7 separate regions of the Homo sapiens genome follow, and regions 2, 3, 4, 5, 6 and 7 are each linked to region 1. The links are contacts of gene promoters, found by promoter capture Hi-C in blood cells and fetal thymus (Javierre and others, 2016). All regions are on one chromosome and are shown on one strand. Each heading gives the region's core, a stretch centred on a gene start or on the middle of the fragment in contact. The rest is flanking DNA. Distances are from core to core; before and after follow the strand shown. Region 1 holds the start of RWDD2B (RWD domain containing 2B). Region 2 overlaps APP (amyloid beta precursor protein). Region 3 overlaps LOC124905008 (a long non-coding RNA gene). Region 4 has its middle 8.9 kb from the start of SOD1. Region 5 overlaps ADAMTS1 (ADAM metallopeptidase with thrombospondin type 1 motif 1). Region 6 overlaps TIAM1 (TIAM Rac1 associated GEF 1). Region 7 overlaps TIAM1 (TIAM Rac1 associated GEF 1).

Region 1 (3,307 bases), core at 225-2,724:
GTATGAAAACAGATAGATTGATGAGGTATGTGACAAAGCTGGTAGAGTAAAATTCTGTACTCTCCAGGTCAGTGTTTTTCAACCTCAACACTATCAACATTTTGGACCAGCAAATTTGTTGTTGTCGGGGGATGTCCTGTTCATTGTAGGAAGTTGAGGAACATCCCTGTGCTCTACCTACCCCATGCCAATACCATCCTTCCAGTTGTGACAACCCAAAATGTCTTCAGACACTGCTAAATAGAGGGGAAATCCATCCTTCCCCTTCTCTTGAGGTCTGCTCCACTGTAAAATTCTCTCGACTTCGCTTTACACTTGAATTTTTTCATAATAAATGTTGGAGGAAAAAATAAATTATGACATTGAAAAACGCTCATGAAACACTATGCAGAAGACGTAGTTTATGAAGACCTACAATACATACTGTCGTATTTTTGTTTAAAAAAAAAAAGTGGAGGGGAGACCTAGCAGTGATATTTAGTATTGCTAAATGTCAATGTTTACAAATCTTATCTATGACATTTCTAAAATGAATATTATAAAGTGTATTGCATATAGTTGGATTGGGAAGAAAAACATTTCTAATTATTCTCCTGTCAGCATCTCCTTCAAACTACCCTTTTATTAACAGGGATAGATATGCATTCACACGGTTCCTCCCAGCTTGGTTAATGGGCAAGAACACCTAAGATAGCCAAGGCCACCATGCATCCAGGCTCACATCTCCCTAATTGCCCTCCTCCATGATTCAGGGACAAGGAGGATCACCATCGTGTGGGAAGATACTAGAAATGTAGAATTTGGAACCCCACCCCTACCTACGGAATCCTGATCTGCACTTCAACAGGATCCCCGAACTATTCCTAGGCGCGTTCGAATTTGAGGAACATTAACGGACCAATTCTTTGTCCCTGAAAAGTGCCCGTTATAGAGGCGGCCGCTGGGAAATGACAACGGGGTTGGCATGGAGAGGTATTAAGTAGAAAAACTCCGGCCGGGCACGGTGGCTCAGGCCTGTAATCCCAGCACTGTGGGAGGCCGAGGCCGGTGGATCACCTGAGGTCAGGAGTTCGAGACCAGCCTGGCCAACATGGTGAAACCCCATTTCTACTGAAAAATACAAAAATTATCTGGGCATGGTGGTGGGCGCCTGTAATCCCAGCTACTCGGGAGGCTGAGGCAGGAGAATCGCTTGAACCCAGGAGGCGGAGGCTGCAGTGAGCCGAGATCGCGCCACTGCACTCCAGCTTGAGAGACACAGCGAGACTCCGTCTCAAAAAAAAAAAAAAGGAAGAAAGAAAGAAGAAGAAGAGAACTCTGCGACTGAAAAGTACCTAGCAGGGACAACGCATTCCCTACGTCCTTCCAAGTGCAGACACCAACACCGGCGGACGCGGCTCCCAACAGGCGAGCCCCAGCTTCCGGTCCGCGGCCTTGGACGCGCATGCGCCGCATGCTTTTTTTTTTTTTTTCCGGTAGGTCGCCAGCTGAGGCGGTTTGTAAGTTTTGGGTCGCAGTATGCTAGAATTTTGAGGCTCCCTTCTGATGAAAATTGAGCTGTCCATGCAGCCATGGAACCCGGGTTACAGCAGTGAGGGGGCCACGGCTCAAGGTGAGTCTCGCCTCAGCTAGCGCCAGTGGTGACCGCCACGGGGGTTTCCCACGCTGCAGCGCCCAGTGCAACCCTTTGGGAACGTGCCCGGCATGGCGGCCCCGGTTCCCCTCACTGCATGCGCCCATCGGTCGGCTCGGTCCTCGGCGTTGCTTCCCGGCTTCTGCAGCCCTGCTCCAGCCGGGGACCTCGCCCCGGGGGCAATCAGGGTGCGAGGGCGGCTGCGTGCTGGGCTTTCTTCCTGAGAGCGTCTTGGCTTGGGTCGCGGGGTACCCTGCTCTGTTCTTCAAAAAAAAATCTGCAAGGAAAAGATATTATTCCACTCAGAAATCTCAAGTTTCAGTCTGCGTTCTCTTAAATATATTTTATTTTTTAAAAAAATAATAAAGGCGAGCTCTTACTATGTTACCCAGGCTGATCTTGAACTCCTGGGCTCAAGCAGTCCCCCTTCCTCTGCCTCCCAAAGTGCTGGGATTACAGGCGTGAGCAATCGCGCCCGGCCACAGTCTATTATCTTACAGCATTCGCTGAAATCTTGAATCATAAAATTATCTTGAGGGTTTTTTGGAAGGACTGAAATCTCTTAAGCGAAAATAATTTGGCAGATAAATGACCTGTGACATCACTCCCGTAGTTGTCCGTTCAAGAGTCCCTCCGTCCCGTTCTTCTTTGCTAATCCCATTTCATCTTCGATACCTCCAATTCAATAGCACCCTCTCCCAACTTTACTCACTCCCTGGGAGACTTTAAACAAATATATAGTTCCAAATAAGTGTTGACTCCCAAGATTATATATCTAGCTGAGTCTCTCGTAGACTTCAAAACTATACATCTAACTGCCTGCTAGACCTCTCTATTTAACAGGTGTCTTAGTAGGCACTTCATTACTTGTGTCTAAAACCAAGCTTCAGCTCCCCATGACCATCAACGTCTAAATAAATGGCAGATCCATACTTTCAGTACCTTAAAGCCCCGGAGTCATTCTTCCGTGTCTCATGTAATTCATCTGTAAATCCTGTTGCCTCTGTTCTCTGCATGTATCCAGAACCTGAAGCTCACCAACTTGACCACTATAATCCTATCAAAGCCACCATCATCTCTCCCTAGTTATTGCGGTGTCTATATCTGGTCACCCCACTTTTCCTTTCACTTTTCTCCATAGCAGCAAGTGTGGGGATCTTCATAAGTCAAACCTCTCTTGTAGCTCTTACATGTCAGTCGGGATAAAATTCAAAATTCTGGCCATGCTTTACTAGTCCCAACATAAACTGCCCCACATTTCCTTACTAAACTCTTCTATTCCCCGTGTCCTCAGCTCACTGTGCTCTGGCCAGCTGTTCTAGCACCCTCCTTCCTCAAGGCCTTTGAATATGCTGTTCGCTTTCCCTTGAACACTCTTGGCCAAGAAAAACACATGGCCTCCTTTTTCAGTTCCTTAAAGTCTCTTCCCTACAGTCACCTTAGGAGAAAGGCCTTTCCTGACAATGCTGTGTGCAGTCTCACCCCTGCTGCCTCATTGTTTCCCTTATCCTTGTTTTCTTTTTCAGGTTTCTTCATAGCAGTTATTCACTGGGTACAAAAATTCTTTTTTGTTTTTTTTTGAGACAGTCTTGCTCTGTTGCTCTGGCTGGAGTGCAGAGGTATGATCTTAGCTCACTGCAACCTCCGCCTCCCCAGTTCAAGCGATTCTCCTGC
Region 2 (3,307 bases), core at 469-2,968, 2.9 Mb after region 1:
TTTGAAGCCTGAGTGCACTTTCATTTGATGCCTTGCTTTATTGCTTAAGAGAATTTTAAACTGCCGAATCCGCAAATGTGCTGCAGCCTATAATGACACATATTTAAATGATTTTTGCATCTAAACAAATGCATTCACTCTTTGCCTGGTGTGTACAATTTGAATGACACTCGTGCTCTGCCTGGAAGGAACAGACGTTTTTCATTATAAAATTCAGTCAAGCAGAAAAGTAGCAAAGGAAGCAGAAATTTCCATTTACATCTATGATTGAAGTTGTAGTGATAAAAGAGGATGACTAAGTTGAAGAGTAGCCTTGTTCTCATTCTGCTATCTGACATGGGATCTTGTCACTTTGGTAATAGTTTTTAAACTTACATTATTGAGGAAGGCTCTGATCAGAAGTCTCAAATTATACATGTTCTTCAACCTTAGATTTTTCTGGGTGTTTTGTTTCAAAAGTCTCAAATTATATATGTTCTTCAACCTTAGATTTTTCTGGGTGTTTTGTTTGGTTTTTTGGTTATCTATAGATAGATTTGAGTATCTCTTTTTTTCTTAAAATCCGTTACTTACTAGTAATAAAGACTTAAGTGGTAGCTTTACGCTCCATTATCACAGAGATTCACAGTACTTTTTAGTTTTTACTTGTGAGCCTCAGCAGGTGTAGACAGATACCTTAGTTGCCACTGATAACATCCAGTTGCCACTAGATCAAGAAATGGTTCAAAATTCTCCAGGGGCATTTTCTGCTAAAGAAGAGTTGGTGATCTTCCTTTTGGAAGCCTTAATGTACTTAAACCTTCTTCCTTAGAAGTCCAGAAATTCAATTATTTCAGCTCTCTGTGGAGTGATAAGTCCTGCCAAATTGATTTACAATAATGAAACTAAGCCTTGTTTACAAATCTAAGTGGTGATTTCTAAGTCCACAGAGGCGTGGTAACAGAGAGAGAGATTCTGATTTATCTGGGGGTCTATCCGTGTTTGAACAGATTGTGTGATTTTTGAAACATGATTCAAAAGGGATGTTGATAAATTCTAAAATACATTTTTATTGAAGAGCTTGATGAATCATGTATACTTACTTTATTTGTTATTCTATTAGATATTGTCTTCCTCATCCCTAGGTGGTGTTGCTAGTACAGTGACAGAATTCAAATCCTTCTTTTTCCTCTGCTCTAACAGAGCTTTGTGAACTCATAGCAATATTGTAATGCCTGGTAAAAGGTGGTGCCAGTTTCAAGTACTATATCCTAATTACTTCATGGCTAACTCTTGTTATTGTTAACAATATTGTTAACTCTTTTGTTAAATGCAGTGACATCTTTTTTCTTTCTCATTCTCTGTGTACTTTTTGCCCTAAATAGTTCTGCATCTTTTAAGATACAAGTTTGCTTTTTCTTGGAGGTTTTTATTTGGAAAATGCCTGAAATATATAGACCAACATTTGTTCCTCCAATGGTTAAATTACATTGTCTCCCAAAGTGAGGCATTTTAAGTCTGGACTATACCCAGGAGAATCTAAAAGAGGCAGTTAATAAGCTCTTGAAGAGCACAGTGGGGTGGTTGTGTATTTATTGAGTCTCACACTTAGGAGAGAAATAGGCTGGACCAAATGAGCCTGGGCATCAAAAGCATGTGGGTGGTCGTTGGTGATATGTGCAGTGATGAGTGTGTGTGCTGAGGGTCCTAGACCAGGCTGGCAGGGAAATGAACTGAAGGCAGTGAAGCCTCCCCTGATAACTGCAGAGAGTGCTGCAGCATCCAGGACCTCAGGATCATGATGAACAAGCTGTAGTGGATGGAAGGGAGAGGAACTATGGGAAGGATGAGTTTCTGGCCAGAAAGTGGTTTACTGGAGTGCTGTGTCTGAGTATTACATGATCTGAGGACCATGAGGTCCAGCTTTGGGAGTATGGAGAGTTTGAGTGGAGTAGAGTTATAGTCCCATGGTCTTCTGATTCACAGACATTCATGAGCGATAAGTATCTATTGAGAAAGTGGAAGCATGATTTTTATGACCTCCTCTTGTTGTGGGGAAATCGATCAACGGGGCCTATATTGGTTGGGTTCTACAACCAAATAGAATGTGTTCAGCAGGAGTCATGTTTTGGGCTCCTCACAATGTTCAGTGTTAGTTCTGTTCCTTTCTCTTGCTTCCACATAGGAAAGACTTTGACCCAATGAGGAATTAGTCATTGTCCTTTGGGTACACTTCCGGAATTTGATAATCAGTTGGGCACTTGATTCTAGTACATTTGCTAAAAGTAATTAATACCCTGCAATTGGAAGCATGCAGCAAGCGACTGGGAATGCTAAGTGAAAGGTCAGAATTGAAAGAGTGGAGGAGGCTGTTGACCCTTAGGCATGGATGATATGTCTGAGTGAGAAAGCAAGAAGAGTAGAAGACAGAGCCTTACTTTATAATCAGAATTATGAAAAGAGGAGCCAATGAGAGGGAAAGAATGATTGGCTTGAGATAGATTGGTGGAAACTGGAGAAGATTGAATTTAAAGAAGAAAAGTGGGCCAAGTTCAGTGGCCCATGCCTAGAATCCCAGCAAATTGGGAGGCTGAAGCTAGGAGAGTTGCTTGAGGCCAGGAGTTTGAGATCAGCTTGGGCAACGTGGCGAGACCCCTGTCTCTACAAAAAATAATTAAAAAAAAAATTAGCCAGGCATGTTGGCATGTGCCGGTAGTCCCGGCTACTTGGAAGGCTGAGACAGGAAGGTTGTCTGAGCCCAGGAGGCTGCAGTGAGCTATGATCACAGCACTGCACTCCAGCCTGGTTGACAGAGGGTATCCCCGTCTCTTTAAAAAAAAAAAAAAAAAGAGAATGTGGCAGAGTAGTCAGAGAACTGGAGGGCTGAGAAGAGACTGATGGCATTTGTTGTTCTTGACCTTGAAAGAAGAGTTGCAGATTGTTGGAGCAAGGCCAGATGGTAATAGGTTGGAAAGAACAAGTGAGGGGCGTGAGAGTGACAGTCTACAACCCCGTTAAGAAGTTATCTGTGAAAATGCCTCTTCCTGTCTTGATTATAGCCTCCCTCGCACATGGCTTTCTGAGTATGGTATGTGAAAACAGCATGCTGTATATTTTTACCTTCCCATATGAGTTAAGGTTTTGGTAATGACTTGTGGTTCTTTTGCCTCACGGAACACCAACCTGGTTGGTATTTTGTCGGCAATTATGTGGTTTTTAAAAAGCCCCGTATATAACCTTAATTAATTGCGTCTCTAAAATCTATCAGGCTTTGAGTTTTTTGTTTTTTTTTTTTAAATAAGGCAGAAAGAAAGGAAAGTGTTAGGAG
Region 3 (3,307 bases), core at 358-2,857, 2.7 Mb before region 1:
CTCTCATAAGCAAAACTTTAGGCCCAAGTGGCTTCATTGGTGAATTCTAACAAATCTTAAGAAAGAAATAATATCAATTCCACACAGGCTATTTTAGAAAATAGAGAAGGAGGTCGGGTGTGGTGGTTCACACCTGTAATCCCAGCACTTTGGGAGGCCGAGGCAGGTGGATCACCTGAGGTCAGGAGTTCGAGACCAGCCTGGCCAACATGGTGAAACCCCATCTCTAGTAAAAATACAAAAATTAGCTGGGCATGGTGGCAGCTGCCTGTAATCCCAGCTACTTGAGAGGCTGAGGCAGGAGAATCGCTTGAACCCAGGAGGTTGCAGTGAGCCAAGATCGCACCACTGCCCTCCAGCCGGGTGACAAGAGCAAAACGCTATCTAAAAAAAAAAAAAAAAAAAATAGATAACAGGGAAGGAGAGAAGCACTTATCAAATAATTTGATGAGAGCAAGCTACCCCGACACCAAAACCATTACAAGAAAAGGAAAACAGAGACCACCAATACCACTCATGAATATAGAAGGAAATATTTTGACAGACAGAATCTTTGCAAATTGAACCCGGCAACATATAAAAAAAGTAATATCCCATAACCAAGTGGATTTTATTATAGGAATGCCAGGTTGGTTTCACATTCAAAAACCAATCACAGTAATTCATTAATATAATAGAATAGACAAAATCACATAATCATCCCAATGAATATAGCCATGGTATCTGACAACATTAACACCCATTTGTGATTTTTGTTGTTGTTGTTGTTGTTTTGTTTTTTGAGACGGAGTCTCACCCTGTTGCCCAGGCTGGAGTGCAATGGCGTGATCTCGGCTCCCTGCAACCTCTGCCTCCCAGGTTCAAGCAATTCTCCTGCCCCAGCCTCCCAAGTAGCTGGGATTACAGGTGCACAGGCGAGCGCCACCATGACCAGCTAATTTTTTGTATCTTTAATAGAGACGGGGGTTCACCACGTTGGCCAGGCTGGTCTCAAACTCCTGACCTCGTGATCCGCCCACCTCGGCCTCCCAGAGTGCTGGGATTACAGGCGTGAGCCACCACGCCTAGCCAGCATACTTCCTATTTTGTCTTGTTTTCAGTTGTGTGGGGTGTTTTTTTTTTTTTGAAATTAACAAGTTGATTTAAAAATTTATATAGAAATGCAAAGATTACAGCATAGTGAAAACAATTTTTAAAAGAACTATGTTGGAGACTTTAACTGATTTACTTGAATTACTAGAGAAATTAAGACAGTGGGCTATGTATATGCAAGAAAAGTATATAGATATATATAAAGGAACAGAGTACACATACGTGGAACTAGATCCACACATATGTGGTCAACTGATTTTCAACAAAGGAGGCAAAGTAATTCAATGGGGGAAATGATCTTTTTTTCCAACAAATAGTGCTGGAACAACTAGATATCCTAATGTAAAAAAATGAAGCTTGATATTTATCTTATCTCATACACATATATTAAATCAAAATGGATCACAGACTTAAACAAAAGTGCTAAGCTATAAAGAGTCAAGAAGAAAATAGAGGAGAACATTTCCATATCCTGGGGATAAGCAAAAATTTTTCAATATGACAGAAAAGCACAAACCATAAAAGAAAAAAGTATAAATTATATCCATCAAAATTAAAAACATCTGCTTTTCAAAAGAAAATGAAAAGGAAAGCCACAGACTGTGAGGAAATGTTTACAACACACATATCTGACAAAGGACTCATATCATTCAATAGCTTCCTATTGAAGCTTCCAAATGATCCGTTTTTTTAAAGGGCAAACGATTTGAACACTTTACTAAAGAAAGTATACATGGCCGGGTGCGGTGGCTCACGCCTGTAATCCCAGCACTTTGGGAGGCCGAGGTGGGGGGATCACAAGGTCAGGAGTTCAAGACCAGCCTGGCCAACATGGTGAAACTCTGTCTCTACTAAAAATACAAAAATAAGGTGGGCATGGTGGCATGTGCCTGTAATCCCAGCTATTCGGGAGGCTGAGGCAGGAGAATCACTGGAATCTGGGAGGCGGAGGTTGCAGTGAGCCGAGATCCAGCCACTGCACTCCAGCCTGGGTGACAGAGCAAGACCCCATCTCAAAAAAAAAAGGAAAAGAAAGTATACATATGGCCAATATACACATGGAAAATACTCAACATCAGGGCAAGGTGCCAGACTCTGGAGGAATAGTTCCTCGAGGAAGGAACTTATCTGTGTTTGGGCTTATCACAGTATTCCACACACCTAGCACAGTGCCTGTCCACAAGAGATGTACACATTTATTTTCTGAATGAATGAAACAGCAAATGTTGGACTGGCGTGGCCTAGTCCTAAAAGGTGACATTTCACTTCAGATGAGACTGGTTTTTAATACTTTCCATTTTGGAAAGAGAATCTTGGATTCCTAATCCTAAGTAAGATAGGAAGTGATGAAGAGAAATTGTTTTCCTTTATTAGTTACTCATATGCTCACTGTTGCAATCATAGCTAAGATGACATCCAGAACATTTTAGGTTTGCTGCATACTTACTTGTATGTTTACTTTTTTAAGGAGCTTACTCTTTCTGACAATAAAACTGGCCTGGTGTGGTGGCTCATGCCTGTAATCCCAGTACATTGAGAGGCCAAGGAGGGCGGATCACCTGAGGTCAGGAGTTCGAGACCAGCCTGACCAACATGGCAAAACCGCATCTCTACTAAAAATACAAAAAAAAAAAAAAAAAACCAGCCAGGCACGATGGCGGATGCCTATAATCTCAGCTGCTCAGGAGGCTGAGGCAGGAGAATCGCTTGAAACCAGGAGGTGGAGGTTGCAGTGAGCCGAGATCACCCCACTGCACTCCAGCCTGGGCAACAGAGTGAGACTCCTTCTCAAAAAAAAAAAAAAAAGTGATACATGCCTTCTGTGAGGAGTATGAAAAATGCTGAAAAATTAAAAAGAAAATGAAAATTCCCTAAAATCCCATTGCCCAACTGCCGTTGAGCTCTTCCTTCTTGGAGTTCCTGCTTTCCACACATTTCATTCCATTGTTTTGGCCCCAACAACATAAAGGGCATGAAGACAGAAGATGCACAAAAGGAGTCAGGTGGGTCCCTTGGGGATGGAGGGATCCCCATGTGGAATTCCCCAGTGGGCAGTTGAAATGCAGTTCTAAACCAGGAGAGAGTTCAGTCACATCCCTAAGTGGGGAGGAAGAAGAATCACAGAGGTGTCAGGGAAAGCTTCAGAGAGAGGAGGAGGCAAGATAATGAAAAGGTAAGCCACAGACTGGGAGGAAGTATTTACGATACACATATC
Region 4 (3,307 bases), core at 405-2,904, 2.6 Mb before region 1:
GCTCATAAGCTGAGGGACATTTGGATGTATTATGGGTTGAATTGTGCCCCATCCCCAAATACATATGTTAAAGTTTTATTTTTTTGGACGGAGTCTCGCTCTGTCACCCAGGCTGGAGTGCAGTGGCGCGATCTCGGCTCACTGCAAGCTCTGCCTCCCAGGTTCATGCCATTCTCCTGCCTCAGCCTCCCAAGTAGCTGGGATGCCCGCCACCACGCCCGGCTAATTTTTTGTATTTTTAATAGAGACTGGGTTTCACCATGTTAGCCAGGATGGTCTCGATCTCCTGACCTTGTGATCCGCCTGCCTCGGCCTTCCAAACTGCTGGGATTACAGGCATGAGCCACCACGCCCAGCCCTGAAGTTTTAACCCCCAATAACTTGGAAGGTGACCATGTTTGGAAATGGGGTTTTGCAGATGTAATTAGTTAAGATAAGGTCATACTGGAGTAGGATGAACCCCTAAGTCCAGCATGACTGGTGTCCTTACAAAAGAGGAAATTTGGACATAAGCACACAGGGAGAACACCCCCATGTGAATATAAAGGCAGAGATAGGTGTGGTGCTTCTACAAGCCAAAGAACACCAGATATTGTCAGCAAACCCCAAAAAGCTAGGGGAGAGGCATGGAGCAGATTCTTCACAGCCTCAGAAGGAACCAGCCTTGCTGATACCTTCATCTCTCCTAGCCTCTGGAACTATGAGACAATGTCTGTTATATAAGCCACTCAGTTTGTGGTAGTTGTTTTTCTGGTTTGTTTGTTTTTCTGAGACAGAGTCTCTCTCTGTCAGCCAGGCTGGAGTGCAATGGCACGATCTCGGCTCACTGCAACCTCCACCTCCCGAGTTCAAGCAATTCTCCTGCCTTAGCCTCCCAAGTAGCTGGGATTACAGGTACCTGCCACTACACCCGGCTCATTTTTTGTGTTTTCAGTAGAGACAGGGTTTTGCCATCATGGCCAGGCTGGTCTCAATCTCCTGACCTCAGGTGATCCACCTCCTCGGCTTCCCAAAGTGCTGAGATTACAGGTATGAGCCACCGCATCCAGCCGTGTGCATGGTAGTTTGTTACAACAGCCTTAGACAGGCATACAGGAGTATTTCCAGTTCTTGAATATTATGAATAATGCTGCTGTAAACACTGGCATTCATGCCTCTGAACACATATGGTTTTATTTCTCTTTGGTTTTTTAACTTTTGTTTAACTTTTTTAAAAAACTGCCAATTAGCTTTTCCAAGTGTCTACATCACTTTACATTTCCATCAGCAACGTATGATGGTTCCATTTTCTCCCCATCCTCACCAACACTTGGTATTGTTTTTCTTTTTTGATTACAGCCATTCTAATGAACGTATAGTAGTATTTCATTGTAACCGTAATTTGCATTTTTCTAATGACTAATGATGTTGAGCACCTTATCATAATGCTGATTAGCAATTTGTATATCTTCTTTAATGAAATGTCCACTTCAGTCTTTTTTCATCTTTATGGCCTTATAACACTGTCTGGGACCCCCAGGGCAGTGTTGAATAGAAGTAGCAAGAACTGACATTTTGCATTGTTCCTGACATTTCAGGGAAATGTTCAGTCTTTTACTGTTAAGTATGATGTTAACTGTGGGTGTTTCATAGATGCACTTTATCCAGGTTGAGGAAGTTCCCATCTATTCCTAGTTTGTTGAGAGTTTTTAACATGAAAGAGTGTTAGATTTTGTTAGAAGGTATTTCTGCATCTATTATTGAGAGGATCATGTAGTTTTTGTCCTTTGTTCTATCAGTATAGTATATTACACTGGTCAAGTTTCAGACGTTAACCAACCTTGAATTCCTATAATAAATCCCACTTGTTCAGAGTATATAATCCTTTATATATGTTGCAGAATTTGGTGTATTAATATTTTGTTAAGGGATATTATTCTGTAATTTTATTTTCTGGTAATAAAAATGTCTTTATTAACTGTTCTCACTGAATGAGTTGAGACTCATTGGACATATATCAATTAGGTCACATAGGTTAATAATGTTTTCTAACTCTTTAATATCCTTGCTGATTTATTGTCTAATTTTTTCATCAATTAGAATAGAATATTGATATCCTCAACTATTGTTGTTGAACTGTCCATATCTTCTTATATCTCTTTTAATTCTGCCAGTTTTGTTTCATGTTTTTGAGGCTTTATTAGCGATGTACATATTTATGACTTGTACATTCCTGACATATTGACTCTTTTATCATTACTAAATGTTCCTCGTTGTCTCCAGTAATATTTCTTGACTTAAAGTTTATGTTAGCTGATAGCCACATAACTAATGACTGCAACTCTCTTATGGTTACTTTTTTTTTTTTTTTTTTGAGACACGGTCTCACTCTGTCTCTGTCACCCAGGCTGTAGTGCAGTGGCCCAATTACGGCTCACTGCAGCCTTGATCTCTGAGGCTCAAGGATCTTCGCACCTCAGTCTCTGAGTAGCTGGGACTACAGGCACGTACCAACAGGCCCTAATTTTTGTATTTTTTGTAGAGATGGGGTTTTGCTGTATTGCCCAGGTTGATCTTAAACTCCTGAGCTCAAGCAGTCCTCCCACCTTGGCCTCCCAAAGTGCTAGGATTTTAGATGCATGTGCTGCCATGTCCAGCCTACTATTTTCATAGCATATCTTTTTCCATGTTTTTACTTTCCACCTATTTGTGTCTTTGAACCTAAGGTGTAACTCTTGCAGACTGCCTATAGTTAGATTTTGCCTTTTTTATCCAATCCAAATATCTTGTTTTTTATTGGAATGTTTAGACCATTCACATTTAATGTAATTAATAAGTTTGGATTTACATTTACCATTTGCTATTTGTTTTCTTTTGTTGTTGCTTAATTTACTTTTCTTTTTTTTTTTTATTTTTTATTATTTTAGAAGCAGGGTCTCATTCTATAGCCCAGGCTAAAGTGCAGTGACGTGATCACAGCTCACTGCAGCCTCGAACTCCTGGGCTCAAGAGATCTTCCCATCTTAGCCTCCCAAGTAGCTAGGACTACAGGCAAACACCACTACACCCCACTAATTTTTCTTTGTATAATTTTATAGAGATGGGGTCTCATTATGTTGCCCAGTCTGGTCTTGAATTCCTGAGCTCAAGCAATCTTCTCACCTCAGCCTCCCAAAATACTAGCATTGCAGGCATGAGCCACCATACCCAACCTGCTATTTGTTTTCCATATGTCTCCTATTTTTGTTTCTCTGCCCCTCTTTCACTGATTTCTGTGTTACATATTTTTTAGTACAGCATTTAAATTCTTTTTTTAACTATTTAAAAA
Region 5 (3,307 bases), core at 1-2,500, 2.2 Mb after region 1:
AACCTTTAGAGAGGAACAATGTGAAGCACACAACGAGTTTTCAAAAGCTTCCTTTGGGAGTGGGCCTGCGGTGGAATGGATTCCCAAGTACGCTGGCGTCTCACCAAAGGACAGGTGCAAGCTCATCTGCCAAGCCAAAGGCATTGGCTACTTCTTCGTTTTGCAGCCCAAGGTAGTTCGTTTTTACCTTATTTTTACCTAAAAATCAAGGCCTGGGCTTGCTACCTTTTCAAACAATTTTTGTTATACTTTCTTTGCTTTCCATATTAACATATCTTCAATTTCAAATTTGAACTCCTTTTCTTTTACATTAATTGGCAACTGCCTGCTTTGAGTTTAGTGTTTTCAGTTATGAATGAAGCTTAAATCTAACACTTCACATGCTTGCAATTGCTCGCTATTACTCTTTTATATGCAAAGAAAAGCTTTTTGGACAGTCAAGCGCTCCTCTGTGCGACTAGGCTTCACATACAGCTCATAGTTAGATACATTTTATATTCACACAGTAACCAGTAGTTTTGGAAAATAGTCTATGCATGGTCCAAAATACTTGTTACTGGGTAACTAGCAGTAGCAGGTGCAAACAGAATAATAGAAGTGGTAGTCTGAGTATTGATTATTTTTATGTTTGAAAACACATATTGAACTAGGAAAAGCATCATTTCTTTTGCTGTTTTGCTAAGGGAATACATCTGGATCTGAGACAGAAAATGGAATTTAATGTGATTGAGATGATCGTGTGTCATTAGCACCATAGGCTATGAAAATATTCCCAAGTTGCAGATTCAATATTCAGCAAGTGATTTCTGAAGCACTTACTCTTGCCAGATACTAATTATTCTAGGCTCTGAAGATACAGCAGTAAACAAAGTGACAAACAGCTCTACTTTCATTGACCTTAGCTGGAGGAGACATAGGTCAATAGATAAATAATTTTTAAAAATATCTAATTTCTTCAGATGTCTATACGTAGTACTGAAAAATATGCCAAAGTGAAGGGTAAATGCATGAAATGCATAATGTGTAGAGGGTACTGTGTTTAATTAGCATGGTCAGGAAAGTAGAGAGAAAATGTTTACACTTATCATTGCAGCATCTCCTTCCTTTGCTTGTATGTAACACTAGACATGTGTCCTTTTTTCAGGTTGTAGATGGTACTCCATGTAGCCCAGATTCCACCTCTGTCTGTGTGCAAGGACAGTGTGTAAAAGCTGGTTGTGATCGCATCATAGACTCCAAAAAGAAGTTTGATAAATGTGGTGTTTGCGGGGGAAATGGATCTACTTGTAAAAAAATATCAGGATCAGTTACTAGTGCAAAGTAAGTTTTAAAACACCTATTTGCAGACCTTATAATTTAAATGGGCCTTTCAACAGGTCTGGGAAAAAAATATGTCTCATAAAAGATTAATGTGTTTTTAAGCTAAATAATCTAATTAGCCAATGAATCAGAGATTTATGCCTGTTTTTGTCACCTGCAGACCTGGATATCATGATATCATCACAATTCCAACTGGAGCCACCAACATCGAAGTGAAACAGCGGAACCAGAGGGGATCCAGGAACAATGGCAGCTTTCTTGCCATCAAAGCTGCTGATGGCACATATATTCTTAATGGTGACTACACTTTGTCCACCTTAGAGCAAGACATTATGTACAAAGGTGTTGTCTTGAGGTACAGCGGCTCCTCTGCGGCATTGGAAAGAATTCGCAGCTTTAGCCCTCTCAAAGAGCCCTTGACCATCCAGGTTCTTACTGTGGGCAATGCCCTTCGACCTAAAATTAAATACACCTACTTCGTAAAGAAGAAGAAGGAATCTTTCAATGCTATCCCCACTTTTTCAGCATGGGTCATTGAAGAGTGGGGCGAATGTTCTAAGTCATGTGAATTGGGTTGGCAGAGAAGACTGGTAGAATGCCGAGACATTAATGGACAGCCTGCTTCCGAGTGTGCAAAGGAAGTGAAGCCAGCCAGCACCAGACCTTGTGCAGACCATCCCTGCCCCCAGTGGCAGCTGGGGGAGTGGTCATCATGTTCTAAGACCTGTGGGAAGGGTTACAAAAAAAGAAGCTTGAAGTGTCTGTCCCATGATGGAGGGGTGTTATCTCATGAGAGCTGTGATCCTTTAAAGAAACCTAAACATTTCATAGACTTTTGCACAATGGCAGAATGCAGTTAAGTGGTTTAAGTGGTGTTAGCTTTGAGGGCAAGGCAAAGTGAGGAAGGGCTGGTGCAGGGAAAGCAAGAAGGCTGGAGGGATCCAGCGTATCTTGCCAGTAACCAGTGAGGTGTATCAGTAAGGTGGGATTATGGGGGTAGATAGAAAAGGAGTTGAATCATCAGAGTAAACTGCCAGTTGCAAATTTGATAGGATAGTTAGTGAGGATTATTAACCTCTGAGCAGTGATATAGCATAATAAAGCCCCGGGCATTATTATTATTATTTCTTTTGTTACATCTATTACAAGTTTAGAAAAAACAAAGCAATTGTCAAAAAAAGTTAGAACTATTACAACCCCTGTTTCCTGGTACTTATCAAATACTTAGTATCATGGGGGTTGGGAAATGAAAAGTAGGAGAAAAGTGAGATTTTACTAAGACCTGTTTTACTTTACCTCACTAACAATGGGGGGAGAAAGGAGTACAAATAGGATCTTTGACCAGCACTGTTTATGGCTGCTATGGTTTCAGAGAATGTTTATACATTATTTCTACCGAGAATTAAAACTTCAGATTGTTCAACATGAGAGAAAGGCTCAGCAACGTGAAATAACGCAAATGGCTTCCTCTTTCCTTTTTTGGACCATCTCAGTCTTTATTTGTGTAATTCATTTTGAGGAAAAAACAACTCCATGTATTTATTCAAGTGCATTAAAGTCTACAATGGAAAAAAAGCAGTGAAGCATTAGATGCTGGTAAAAGCTAGAGGAGACACAATGAGCTTAGTACCTCCAACTTCCTTTCTTTCCTACCATGTAACCCTGCTTTGGGAATATGGATGTAAAGAAGTAACTTGTGTCTCATGAAAATCAGTACAATCACACAAGGAGGATGAAACGCCGGAACAAAAATGAGGTGTGTAGAACAGGGTCCCACAGGTTTGGGGACATTGAGATCACTTGTCTTGTGGTGGGGAGGCTGCTGAGGGGTAGCAGGTCCATCTCCAGCAGCTGGTCCAACAGTCGTATCCTGGTGAATGTCTGTTCAGCTCTTCTGTGAGAATATGATTTTTTCCATATGTATATAGTAAAATATGTTACTATAAATTACATGTACTTTATAAGTATTGGTTTGGGTGTTCCTTCC
Region 6 (3,307 bases), core at 485-2,984, 2.2 Mb before region 1:
GCAAGACCCTATCTCTAAAAAAGAAAGTAACAGGCTGGGCACGATGGCTCACGCCTGTAATCCCAGCACGTTGGGAGGCTGAGGGTGGATCACCAGAAGTCAGGAGTTCAAGACCAGCCTGGCCAACACAGTGAAACCCTGTCTCTACTAAAAGTACACAAAATTAGCTGGGAGTGGTGGCAGGTGCCTGTAATCCCAGCTACTCAGGAGGCTGAGGCAGGAGAATTGCTTGAACCCGGGAGGTGGAGGTTGCAGTGAGCCGGGATCGCACCACTGCGCTCTAGCCTGGACAACAAGAGCGAAACTCTCTCTCAAAAAAAGAAAAAGAGAAAAAAGGTAACAATTTTAAAAATAATAAAAGTTCCAGCGTTCCAAGAGCTGCTTCTTGTTCAAAAAATGGTTATTCCTGCTGTGGTGTTGGAGAAAGCCAAGTGCGTGTGGCTAACAGCAGGCCTATGGCATGTTAAAGGCAATTAGGGCCAGCGCTGGAGTTGCAGAGTCAGATCCTTTGATAAACCTCAGGCGTGTCTGTCTGATGCCAAGTGGAAGCTTGTGCTCTGCAGTCCAGACCAGTGTCCCTCCTGCAGGAAGTAGATTAAGCAGCGTTTGTTGAACAGGAAAGGCCTCTGTGATAGCCGTGAAAGTCGAAGGCACCTTGCTTCAGAGAGAGGAATTGCCAAGTGCTGAGCACGGACAGCCGCTTGGTCTGCATGGGCAGGACGTGCCTCTGTGCAGTACCCGTGAAGTGTGAGGTTCTATTTTGGTCTGATGTTCCATGGAGATGGCCTGGAGCTCGATTCTGAAAACCGAAGACAGTCAGGCGGCAGGGAGGGGCGGCAAAGGAAGAGGAACTGCACAGATTTCTCTTCCCACAAACAAATATGGTCCAGGGCTTCAGATTCTCTGAAGTCTCACAGATACCCGGCAGCACATGGTCCTCTGTTTGTTTGTCGATAACATTTGGAGACACGCGCGCCTCGTAAACTGTCGGCCTGCTGTGCTTCTTGTCACACAGCACATGGCCTGCCTGCGTGGGCCCTGCTATGGCCGGGGGCGGGGTAACTTCCAGTGAGATTTGACTGATGACACCGTCAAATCCTGCGTGTGAAAAAACATGTTTCGGAGACTGAGATGCTCTATTTTGATATTTTTAAAGATTGTTAATGTATATTTGACTTTCACAACAAGCTAACAGGATTAGTAAGTTTTTATGGATTTTTAAATTTCTATAGGAAACAAAGACTGAGATTTTGTGACATTTGACTAAAAAGAAGTTACTATTTTAAATCTACAGTTTTAATGGAATTTTAAATTTCTCTTTATAGGAAACAAAAACTGAGATTTTGTGACATTTGATTAAAAAGGAGTTATTATTTGTCTACCAAGTTCAAATTGTAACATTCCTTTCTTTCTTTCTTTTCTTTTCTCTCTCTCTCTCTCTCTCTTTCTCTCGCTCTCTCTTTCTTTCTTGCTTTGTTTTTTAGCTTTGTTGGAGGGGTGAGTGTTTATGCTGATGTTATTATGGGTATTTATATGGAATTCTTAAAATCTTATAACAGTAAAATGACTGAAACGCAAAATAAAATTATATCCTAACAGTTGAGTTCCAGCTAAATATCTTTATTGACAGTGTTTAAGCTTTCTTTTGCCCCCACCCCCAAACGTTTTTTTTCCATCAGGGATTTAAACTCAGGCATTAAAAAGACCTTTTAAAAGTTTCGTGTTGTAATTGTTTCTCTTTGTCAATGTTTGAATTGGAGGGTCTGCTTAGAGCACATTGTTAAGACATCTCACGAGGCCAGAATTTTTTTTCTTCCTCCTTAAGCTTAAGTCCCACATGGACTTGAATGAAACCAAAGTAGATGTGTGTAATCTGGGTAAATGAAAGGTAAATCTCAATGTAAACTGCACTAATATGTTTGTACTTCCCCAAATCTCCTCGTTGTCTGTCCTGTTGATGGTGCGTCAGAGGTACTGATTGCAAACGTTTTTGCAGTCACAAAAATATTATTGTAGGTAACTTAAAAGGCAAAGCATTGATTTTACCTGTTCACAACAATCAATTCTATTTACAGGGTTACCGCAGTTTTTTTTTTTCTTACTTTCAAATAGAGTTGGGGTTTCTCTCTGTCACCCATGCTAGAGTGCAGTGTCACAATCATGGTTCACTGCAGCCTTGAACTCCTGGACTCAAGTGATCTCCTGCTCTAACCTCTCAAGAGTTTGGGATTACAGTTGTGAGCCACTGCGCCGGGCTCTATAGCAGCTTTTGATTTGGCCTATGATCCCTGTCTGAGAGAGTCCACAGTCCTGCTCTGGGCTTCTTCATTCCCTGAGACTTTGTCTCTCTAGACCGAGCCCTCTTCCTCTCCCCCGGTCCCCTGCTGCATGCCTGGCAGTGTGCTCAGTACTGGGATGTGGATGGGCATCCTGCTTCTCCAGCCACGACTGAGCCTTATCTTCAGCTTTCTTCTCTCTCTGATTGGTAGCAGAGCTGTCGTGCTTTGTTTCCTGGTAAGTAGGTGGGGACAGGAATGTCCAGAACAAAGAGGATAATTCCTCCAATTTCTGTCATTAGGGGAAAGCCGCTCACCTACTACTATTGTGAGTAGCACAGGGGAAGCTAGAGTAGGAAATTGCAAAACTCTGTTTGTATGGGATTAAAAAAAAAACAAACAAACTTGACCATGTTGTTGTCTACACTTCTTAAGCTGGGAGTGTTTAGAGAAGGCCCTCAAGTATGGGAGTGAGAACAATGCCCTTTCCCACTTGAATTCCCTCTTCCTGCCATGCTGGTGTCTCTCCTCAGCTTCCTTGAAGCGTACCACTGTCACCTCCTGCTTTCTGGCTTTCTGGTATCATGAAATTCCCCCTCACCACTTATTGGTTATCTACTACCACGTAATAGACCACTCTGAAACAACTGTTTTACTTGCTCACTGTTCTGTGGCTCAGCAGTTTGGGCCAGACTCAGCTGGTTGGTTGTTCTGCTAACCTTCCCTGGAGTCACTCATGTGACTCTGTGATCCAGTGGTCTGACTGGGGCTGGAGGGTTTAAGATGGCCTTACTCACTCCCACGTATGGTGACTAAACAGCTGGGCCTCCTCTCCTTGGGGTCTCTCATGGGAGGTTAGCTTGAGATTTCTTTGTATGGTGGGCTCAGAGTTCCCAGCAGGGCAAGACCAGAGACTGCAAAGTCACTTGAGGCCTTGGATCACAATTAACATATTATCAAAGCAAATCACAACACCAGCCCAAATTCATGGAGTGGCGAAATAGACATAAAAGTCTGCGCTTAAAGAGATG
Region 7 (3,307 bases), core at 361-2,860, 2.1 Mb before region 1:
CGCAGTTTGCATGAGATGAACCCCTCTGACCAGAGCCCATCTCCTCAGGACTCCACGGGGCCTCAGCTGGCGACCATGAGACAACTCTCGGATGCAGATAAGCTGCGCAAGGTGATCTGCGAGCTCCTGGAGACGGAGCGCACCTACGTGAAGGTATGTTTCTTTTTTCTCCCCCTGCCCTCCCTCTGCCTCGTAAAGGAGTGAAGTTGGTGTGTCTGCTGGTTTTCATTAACAGCTGATTTAAACTGTGTTCATGAAGAGCGTCTTGGTTTCTCCTGGAATTTTGCCTATACTCTGAATGTTAAAAGCTTGTTTTGAGTTGTTTTTTTTGTTTTTTTAAGATAGTCTCACTCTGTTGGCCAGGCTGGAGTACAGTGGTGTGATCATAGCTCACTGCAGCCTTTACTTCCTGCGCTCAAGTAATCCTCCCTCCTCAGCCTCCTGAGTAGCTGGGACCACAGGTGCATGCCACCATGCCCAGCCCCGTTTTCTGTTTTTTTTTGTAGAGAGGAGGTTTCACCATGTTGCCCATGCTGGTTTCGAACTCATGGGCTCAAGCGATCCTCCCACCTTGGCCTCCCAAAGTACTGGGACTATAGGCGTGAGAGCTACCACGCCCAGCCTTCTTGTGATTTTTAAGGAAGCCTAGTGATTTTCACGGCAATTCATTTATATATATATATATATGTATGTGTTGTTGACCTAATAAGAAAGCTACATTTAATTTTTTTAAAAGTTGAGGGTATGATCTTCATAATCTAATTAGAATCTAGCCAGAAGACTGCCAGGTCTGTTGTCTTTGTGTTATCACTTGTTCTGACACCTGGTCACATTTCCTATGCGAAAGCAGGGTGATCTGTTTAAGTATCTATATCTTAGTCTTTTAAATCAGGGGTTAGCAAACGACGGCTCTCAGGTCAAATCCAGCTCGCTGCCTGTTTTCGCAAATAAAGTTTGATGAGAACACAGCCACGCTCATTCCTTGACATATTGTCTATGCCTGCTTGGGTGCTACAGTTGAAGAAGTTGCAATGGAGACCGTATTTTAGTCCTCGAAGCCTAAAATATTGACAGAAAAGGTTGGCTTACTCCTGCATGAAATGGACCTTAACGACCTAAAGTCTCTAACGTTAGCCTTCGGGACAGGATCTGTTTGTTCTCTTCTAGATCCTTTTATAGACATTAACATATGCTTTATACTTTAAGTTCTAGGGTATATAAAAAATAAAACACATAAGCTAATGAGTTCTCTTTTCAATTCTTAGGATTTAAACTGTCTTATGGAGAGATACCTAAAGCCTCTTCAAAAAGAAACTTTTCTCACCCAGGATGAGGTATGCTGGAAATGGTTTCAACTTTGTGACCATCATACCGTGGTTTGACTTGTTGGTAAAGAGGAAAAATGGGGACATGCGTAACACTGAAAACATTTTAAATTTATTTAATTGTAACTAGCTGAAATTATTGCCTGCTAAGCTTTGGTGTGCTCATGAAGAGTAAAAAACTGCCCCGCTCTCTGGTAGTGGGATTATTCTCTTAATTGATAAGAATTGATAGAAAAACCTTGTAATCAGATATAAATAACGTTTAGGAAGACTAATGAGATATGAGGTGCATTAAATTCTGTTTTATTTCTAGCTTGACGTGCTTTTTGGAAATTTAACGGAAATGGTAGAGTTTCAAGTAGAATTCCTTAAAACTCTAGAAGATGGAGTGAGACTGGTACCTGATTTGGAAAAGCTTGAGAAGGTTGATCAATTTAAGGTAAATAGTGCAAAGCTGCCTCCAGCGTCAGGGCTATAGTGTGGCTCAAGTTGAATCCCCTGATCGTGTTGATGTCTTCATTGGAGGGCCACAGTGGGGTCTGTTCCTAAGGGTGTCTGAGAGGGAGGGGAATGGAGTGTGTCTTGCTGGTCTGGCTAAGGGAAGCCCAATGCCATCAATTTGCATTAAACTGGTGCAGCTGCTGGCTTTTACGTGAGAAGAAGTACCAACCTTGACCTTTTGTTTGGTTTATGTGGGGGCCTTTAATGCTTTAGCTATCAGTGAATTAGAATAGGCACTCCTGGCTGGGCATGGTGGCTCACGCCTGTAATCCCAGCACTTTGGGAGGCCAAGGCGGGCAGATCACCTGAGGTCAGGAGTTTGAGACCAGCCTGGCCAACGTGGCAAAATCCCATCTCTACAAAAAGTATAAAAATTAGCTGGGCATGGTGGTGGGCACCTGTAATTCCAGCTACTCAGGAGGCTGAGGCAGGAGAATCGCTTGAACCTGAGATGCAGAGGTTGCAGTGAGCCGAGATTGCAGCACTGCTCTCCAGTCTGGGGGACAAGAACGAGGCTCCGTCTTACAAAAAAAAAAAAAAAAAAAAAAAAAAGGCACTTCTGGTTACCCAGTAAACAAATTAATTTATCGTGTTCTGGGAAACTTTGCTTAATGGAAATGCTTATCATTATCCAGGGGAAAGACAATCTTCCAGCACACGGTGTCCTTGCAGCCTAATGAGGATTTATGACTAGTGCCTTAGCAAGGATGCTTATTTCCTCTCCCCTGCTTGGCTTTCTTTTATTGCAGATTTCCTGTGTTGCACCTCCAATTAACAAAGCACATTGCTTCATGTGTTGGCTTACGTGTCACCCTCATGTGCTTTAACAGATTAATTGGGGTATAATTGTGCAGTAGAATATGCTGCATATACTTAGTGTGGAATTTGATGAATTCACACACACACACCCCTATGAAACCATCGTCACAATCAGGACAATGCACATAATCATTTCTCCTGAAAGTCTTGTCCTGCCCTTTTGTGGTTTTTCTCTTCTGCCTCTTACTGCCCTCCCACTCTACCCCTGCTCCATGCTCTGCTCCCTGTTATGTTAAATATGTTTGCATTCTGGAATTTTATATTGGTGGAATCCCATACCAAGTACCCGTTTTTCTGGGGCTGCTTCCACTCAGCGTAGTTGTACTGAGATCCGTCCATATTGCTGTGTGTATCAAGAGCTCATCCCTTTTCATTGCTGCATTGTCTTCCATTGAATGGATAGACCACACTTTGTTATCCATTCACCTTTCTTGGGCATTTGGGTTGTTTCCAGTTTTTGGTAATTACAAATAAAGCTGCTGTGAACATATGTGTACAAGTTTTAGTATGGATATATGCTCTCATTTCTCTTAAGTACCCAGGAAGGGAATGGTTGGGTCATATGGTAAGGGTATGTTTAACTTTTTAAGAAACTGCTCAACTGTTTTACAAAGTGGTTATACCATTGCAGCTCCCTCCAGCAGTTCCTCCTCATTGTTCTG

Evidence for each region. Contacts are between HindIII fragments. The CHiCAGO score rates a contact against its expected background, and 5 or more counts as called.
Region 2: a contact is called between a fragment that was not itself captured here and the fragment with the promoter of RWDD2B in region 1, in 2 of 17 cell types (non-activated CD4 T cells and total CD4 T cells). The highest score is 10.3, in non-activated CD4 T cells.
Region 3: a fragment that was not itself captured here is called in contact with the fragment with the promoter of RWDD2B in region 1 in 1 of 17 cell types (non-activated CD4 T cells); the score reaches 5.9 in non-activated CD4 T cells.
Region 4: a contact is called between a fragment that was not itself captured here and the fragment with the promoter of RWDD2B in region 1, in 1 of 17 cell types (naive CD8 T cells). The highest score is 7.5, in naive CD8 T cells.
Region 5: a contact is called between a fragment that was not itself captured here and the fragment with the promoter of RWDD2B in region 1, in 1 of 17 cell types (fetal thymus). The highest score is 8.2, in fetal thymus.
Region 6: a fragment that was not itself captured here is called in contact with the fragment with the promoter of RWDD2B in region 1 in 1 of 17 cell types (non-activated CD4 T cells); the score reaches 5.5 in non-activated CD4 T cells.
Region 7: a fragment that was not itself captured here is called in contact with the fragment with the promoter of RWDD2B in region 1 in 1 of 17 cell types (non-activated CD4 T cells); the score reaches 6.1 in non-activated CD4 T cells.

What each region holds. Positions count from the first base shown.
Region 1 is chr21:29,017,516-29,020,822 of GRCh38, reverse strand. RWDD2B (RWD domain containing 2B) reads left to right here and starts at 1,474. Exons shown (of 5, transcript NM_016940.3): 1 at 1,474-1,612. The coding sequence starts at 1,546. LOC124905005 (a long non-coding RNA gene) reads right to left here and starts at 3,237. Exons shown (of 2, transcript XR_007067836.1): 1 at 2,576-3,237; 2 at 1-1,910. RefSeq lists an enhancer at 1,384-1,633. The HindIII fragment of the contact is 4,408 bases long and covers 1-2,519 here.
Region 2 is chr21:26,067,885-26,071,191 of GRCh38, reverse strand. The region is part of intron 3 of APP (amyloid beta precursor protein); the gene reads left to right. Among named protein-coding and RNA genes, the nearest start is that of APP, 100 kb to the left of the region's middle. The HindIII fragment of the contact is 3,912 bases long and covers 1-3,307 here.
Region 3 is chr21:31,736,988-31,740,294 of GRCh38, reverse strand. All of the region lies in intron 1 of LOC124905008 (a long non-coding RNA gene), which reads right to left. Among named protein-coding and RNA genes, the nearest start is that of SCAF4, 6.5 kb to the right of the region's middle. The HindIII fragment of the contact is 314 bases long and covers 1,451-1,764 here.
Region 4 is chr21:31,649,121-31,652,427 of GRCh38, reverse strand. No RefSeq gene overlaps it. Among named protein-coding and RNA genes, the nearest start is that of SOD1, 8.9 kb to the left of the region's middle. The HindIII fragment of the contact is 5,366 bases long and covers 1-3,307 here.
Region 5 is chr21:26,836,452-26,839,758 of GRCh38, reverse strand. ADAMTS1 (ADAM metallopeptidase with thrombospondin type 1 motif 1) reads left to right here. Exons shown (of 9, transcript NM_006988.5): 7 at 1-172; 8 at 1,145-1,320; 9 at 1,481-3,307. The coding sequence ends at 2,180. Among named protein-coding and RNA genes, the nearest start is that of ADAMTS1, 7.3 kb to the left of the region's middle. The HindIII fragment of the contact is 1,646 bases long and covers 428-2,073 here.
Region 6 is chr21:31,171,671-31,174,977 of GRCh38, reverse strand. All of the region lies in intron 15 of TIAM1 (TIAM Rac1 associated GEF 1), which reads left to right. Among named protein-coding and RNA genes, the nearest start is that of KRTAP19-8, 130 kb to the right of the region's middle. The HindIII fragment of the contact is 187 bases long and covers 1,641-1,827 here.
Region 7 is chr21:31,151,093-31,154,399 of GRCh38, reverse strand. TIAM1 (TIAM Rac1 associated GEF 1) reads left to right here. Exons shown (of 28, transcript NM_001353694.2): 17 at 1-153; 18 at 1,266-1,334; 19 at 1,639-1,764. Among named protein-coding and RNA genes, the nearest start is that of KRTAP19-8, 110 kb to the right of the region's middle. The HindIII fragment of the contact is 264 bases long and covers 1,479-1,742 here.